Linked DNA regions of Homo sapiens: region 2 is linked to region 1. The links are contacts of gene promoters, found by promoter capture Hi-C in human tissues and cell types (Jung and others, 2019). All regions are on one chromosome and are shown on one strand. Each heading gives the region's core, a stretch centred on a gene start or on the middle of the fragment in contact. The rest is flanking DNA. Distances are from core to core; before and after follow the strand shown. Region 1 holds the start of ATP12A (ATPase H+/K+ transporting non-gastric alpha2 subunit). Region 2 has its middle 86 kb from the start of CPAP.

Region 1 (2,700 bases), core at 6-2,505:
TTGTTCTTCAGACCCCTATACTTCTCCTTGCCATCCCCCTTGTCTGTTTTCACGATGTCCTTAGTTCCGCTGAGCTCCACGGAGTAAATTTCTGGGGTTTTCTGAAAGAGAAGCCCAGGTGCAATATTGGCCCCAAATGGGGTTTCCGAAGAGGTGCTGAGCGCCCCTCTGCGGGGTCAGGACCTGCAGGAGTCAGGAGCCCCTTCTCCCTTTCCTTCCCTCCTCTGGGGAGGCCGGAGGGAGTCGGACAGTGGAGTCTCTCCCCCACCTCCCGCCGACCTTGGCTTCCTCTCCGTCCGTGTAGAGGGGAGGCGGGGTGGGCACAGGCCAGCCAGCAGCTCCTCAGGGTGACCCTTCTCTGGGTGGAGCAGGTGGGAAGTTACCCCCCCAACTCCTGACTGATGCCTCCAAGGAGCTGTGAGGTTTCCTTAGAACCTCGAGGTTCCTTAGGCACCTCGAGGTTTCCTCTGAGGTGTCCTTCCCAGGGGACACAACAGCTGTGCGTCCTGTTTCTTGGGGAGGAGGCACCCACTAAGCTTACGACCCTCAGTCCTGATCAGGGGGCCCTAACCGGAAGTCTTTTCAGACCGCAACGAATCCATGTCACCCCATCCTCCGAGTCGGAGCCCGCAGGTGCCATGGAGCTGGCCTAGGACCCCTTGGCCCCTTCTCGCTCCTCTGGACTGGCTTCTTTCCCCAGCCAGCCCCGGCGGCCGCACGGAGCCGTGGCGGGGAGTCAGAGAAGCGGTGCCCAGGCCGGGGGGCGCTCAGAGGAAAGGCGGCCTCCCCTTGCCCCGGGACGGGGCGTTTCTCCTCTTCGCCTTTTCCTCGCTTCCCGTCAGCCTGCTCCGGTCCCCGGGGCCTTGGCCCAGCGTCTCGCATCCTCGGCCGGCGCGGGGGCTGCACGCACCTGGTGCATGCTGGGCTGGTGGCGCCGCGGGCTGCGGGCGTGGAGCGCGGATCCGGGACCGCAGCGGCGGAGCGCACGGTGGGGGGCCTCGTGTGGCTGTGGCAGTGGCAGTGGCTGAGGTGTTGGCGGTGGAGATACCGGCGGCGGCGCGGGCCCTGCACGCACCTCCGCGGCCGATCGCCAGCCGCTGCACCGGGGAGGTGGCACCAGCCTTAAATGCCGCCCGCCCCGCCCACGTCCCCGCCAGGGCGCAGGCCAGCGGACGCCTCGGAGGGTAGGAAACCCGCCGGCGCGCGCGCAGGGAGGGGGACCGACAGCTAGGGGTCGGGAGAGTCCAGGATTGAGGACCCCCTGGGAATCCCCTTCCCTTTAGTAGCCGAACGCCAGGGGGCGGGGTCTCTAGGGGGCGGGTCCGGCATCCAGGTGAGTACAGCCCTGGTTCCGCTGGGCGCCCAGAGCCGGACCAGCTGCTCCGGCGAGCTCCCGGCACGCCCACGTCCTGTCCAGGCTTCCCTGAAAACCCACACATGCCTTTTTTTAAAAATGTAATTTGCCTACCAATAAATCAATTTATAAAAATGTGTATGCAGAGAAGGGGAAATTGCAGTTTCTAACAGCAACTACTGTTGGAGATGTCCCGGCTAGAAAAGGCCAATGTGTTTTTGAGAATGGATTTAGATAGGTAAATTCAAGCTTCCGAGAGAATTTGGGAATAACTGAGAGACTCTGAAGAGTAGCTGAATTAATTTGCCGGATCCAGATAAGAATTTGGAATTCTGAAACAATTTGGAGAGGGAATGGGGAGGAGAGATGAGAGGATTAGGGTCGGTGAGACCACAGGAACCTGGGGCCCCAGGCTGCGGGTGCGCAGGAGCGGAGGCTGTTGGCTGGACTGGGCTGGAGAGGTCTGTCTCCACCTATTTATGTCACTCCCAGCTGAGACTCTATACATGAAGGAGAAAAGAATTTCTGACCCTGAAAGTTGATGTGCATACTAAAGCAGTGGTTGTTTTATACTGCTAAGTTTGGGTTGGTTTGTTATGCAGCAATAGATAACTGGGACATGCTCCATGCTCTTAGTGCCCAGCATGAGTTTTTGCACAGGATAGAAAAGGTATTTTCCCCCTGACACTTGAAACATAATTACTCCAGATGAGAAAGATAGCCTGAAAACAATATATCAGAGAGATATTTAGCAGTTAACAGTGGAGGAAATCAAACACGTTCTTTTAAAAGAATGAATCGTGAAGTCTTAAAGTCAGTGAAGAATATTAATTAATGGAGAGGAACATAAAAAATAAAACCCACGAATAGAGTTTAGTAATCAGCACCTATTTAGAAGAACAATAAGAAATTGACATGATTGAAATATATGAAAGGGAGTAGAGATAAGTTTCAAAAGAGGGGGCACTTTATTGGGCCCTTGATGCTCTGCTAATAAGTTTCCATTTAGATAAGGACTAATAGGAGGGTGCTAAGTTTTATTCTTTTTGAAAGTTATATATCAAATATGGTAAGAAAGATTGTCATTTTGACCATATTTAAAATGACTAAGAGTGAGGAGTCCAGAGAAGCAGCAAAAGTAACAATCCCATCATGCAGTGACTAGAACATCTGGCAGAAAACATGAAGAGCATTGGGTACATTTAGAAAAGGTAGAAGAAAAACAATAAGCTTGTGCCCGGCCGGGCGCGGTGGCTCACGCCTGTAATCCCAACGCTTTGGGAGGCCGAGGCGGGCGGATCACGAAGTCAGGAGATCGAGACCATCCTGGCTAACACGGTGAAACC
Region 2 (2,700 bases), core at 199-2,698, 330 kb before region 1:
CCACATGGAAATCAAAAGTGATTTTTACAATAGACCTGACAGATTCAAATTATTCCTCACATCTGGATTGTTTTCCCCTCCAAGTTCGTTGTTCTCCATAAAAATGAGTTTCAAACGTCCAGTTAAAACCTGCCAATCACAACCAGCTCCTGAATGACTGCTGGGTAAATAATGAAATGAAGGCAGAAATAAAGATGTTCTTCGAAACCAATGAGAACAAAGACGCAACATACCAGTATCTCTGGGACACATTCAAAGCAGGGTATAGAGGGAAATTTATAGTACTAAATGCACACAAGAGAAAGCAGGAAAGATCTAAAATTGACACCCTAACATCACAATTAATAGAACTAGAGAAGCAAGAGCAAACAAATTCAAAAGCTAGCAGAAGGCAAGAAATAACTAAGATCAGAGCAGAACGGAAAGAGATAGAGACACGAAAAACCCTTCAAAAAATCAATGAATCAAGGAGCTGGTTTTTTGAAAAGATCACAAAATAGACTGTTAGCAAGACAAATAGAGAAGACAAGAGAGAAGAATCAAATAGATACAATAAAAAATGATAAAGGGGATATCAGCACCGATCCCACAGAAATATAAACTACCATCAGAGAATACTATAAACACCTCTATGCAAATAAACTAGAAAATCTAGAAGAAATGGATAAATTCCCGGACACATACACCCTCCCAAGACTAAACCAGGAAGAAGTTGAATCTCTGAATAGACCAATAACAGGTTCTGAAATTGAGGCAATAATTAATGGCCTACCAACCAAAAAAAGTCCAGGACCAGAAGGATTCACAGCCGAATTCTACCAGAGGTACAAAGAGGAGCTGGTACCATTCCTTCTGAAACTATTCCAATCAACAGAAAAAGAGGGAATCCTCCCTAACTCATTTTATGAGGCCAGCATCATCCTGATACCAAAGCCTGGCAGAGACACAAGAAAAAGAGAGAATTTTAGACCAATATCCCTGATGAACATCCATGTGAAAATCCTCAATAAAATACTGGCAAACTGAATCCAGCAGCACATCAAAAAGCTTATAAACCATGATCAAGTTGGCTTCATCCCTAGGATGCAAGGCTGGTTCAACATATGCAAATCAATAAACGTAATCCATCACATAAACAGAACCAACAACAAAAACCACATGATTATCTCAATAGATGCAGAAAAGGCCTTCGACAAAATTCAACAGCCCTTCATGCTAAAAACTCTCAATAAACTAGATATTGATGAAACATATCTCAAAATAATAAGAGGTATTTATGACAAACCCACAGCCAACATCATACGGAATGGGCAAACCTGGAAGCTTTCCCTTTGAAAACCGGAACACGACAAGAATGCCCTCTCTCACCCCTCCTGTTCAACATAGTGTTGGAAGTTCTGGCCAGGGCAATCAGGCAAAAGAAAGAAATAAAGGGTATTCAATTAGGAAAAGAGGAAGTCAAATTGTCCCTGTTTGCAGATGACATGATTGTATATTTAGAAAACTCCATCGTCTCAGCCCGAAATCTCCTTAAGCTGATAAGCAACTTCAGCAAAGTCTCAGGATACAAAATCAATGTGCAAAAATCACAAGCATTCCTATACACCAATAACAGACAGAGAGCCAAATCATGAGTGAACTCCCATTCACAATTGCTACAAAGTGAATAAAATATCTAGGAATCCAGCTTACAAGTGATGTGAAGGACCTCTTCAAGGAGAACTACAAACCACTGCTCAACAAAATAAAAGAGGACACAAACAAATGGAAGAACATTCTATGCTCATGGGTAGGAAGAATCAATATTGTGAAAATGGCCATACTGCCCAAGGTAATTTATAGATTCAATGCCATCCTCATCAAGCTACCAGTGACTTTCTTCACAGAATTGGAAAAAACTACTCTAAAGTTCATATGGAACCAAAAAAGAGACCGCATAGCCAAGACAATCCTAAGCAAAAAGAACAAAGCTGGATGCATCATGCTACCTGACTTCAAACTACACTACAAGGCTACAGTAACTGAAACAGCATGGTACTGGTACCAAAACATATATATAGACCAATGGAACAGAACAGAGGCCTCAGAAATAACACCACACATCTACAGCCATCTGATCTTTGACAAACCTGACAAAAACAAGCAATGGGGAAAGGATTCCCTATTTAATAAATGGTGCTGGGAAAACTGGCTAGCCATATGAGGAAGCTGAAACTGGATCCCTTCCTTAAACCTTATACAAAAATTAACTCAAGATGGATTAAAGACTTAAATGTAAGACCTAAAACCATAAAAACCCTAGAAGAAAACCTAGGCAATGCGATTCAGGACACAGGCATGGGCAAAGACTTCATGACTAAAACACCAAAAGCAATGGCAAGAAAAGCTAAAATAGACAAATGGGATCTAATTAAACTAAAGAGCTTCTGCACAGCAAAAGAAACTATCATCAGAGTGAACAGGCAACCTACAGAATGGGAGAAAAGTTTTGCAATCTACCCATCTGACAAAGGGCTAATATCCAGAATCTACCAATAACTTAAACAAATTTACAAGAAAAAAATCAAATGACCCAATCAAAAAGTGGGCAAAGGATATGAACAGACACCTCTCAAAAGAAGATATTTATGCAGCCAACAGACACATGAAAAAATGCTCATCACTGAAAAAATGATGATGAAAAAATGCTCATCATCAGAG

What was found. Contacts are between HindIII fragments. The study calls those that stand out against the background at their distance.
Region 2: a contact is called between a fragment that was not itself captured here and the fragment with the promoter of ATP12A in region 1, in 1 of the 25 tissues and cell types used here (spleen).

Annotation. Positions count from the first base shown.
Region 1 is chr13:24,678,963-24,681,662 of GRCh38, reverse strand. ATP12A (ATPase H+/K+ transporting non-gastric alpha2 subunit) reads right to left here and starts at 1,255. Exons shown (of 23, transcript NM_001676.7): 1 at 911-1,255; 2 at 1-101. The coding sequence starts at 919. RefSeq lists a silencer at 898-1,207. The HindIII fragment of the contact is 3,620 bases long and covers 1-2,094 here.
Region 2 is chr13:25,007,995-25,010,694 of GRCh38, reverse strand. No RefSeq gene overlaps it. Among named protein-coding and RNA genes, the nearest start is that of CPAP, 86 kb to the right of the region's middle. The HindIII fragment of the contact is 4,162 bases long and covers 1-2,700 here.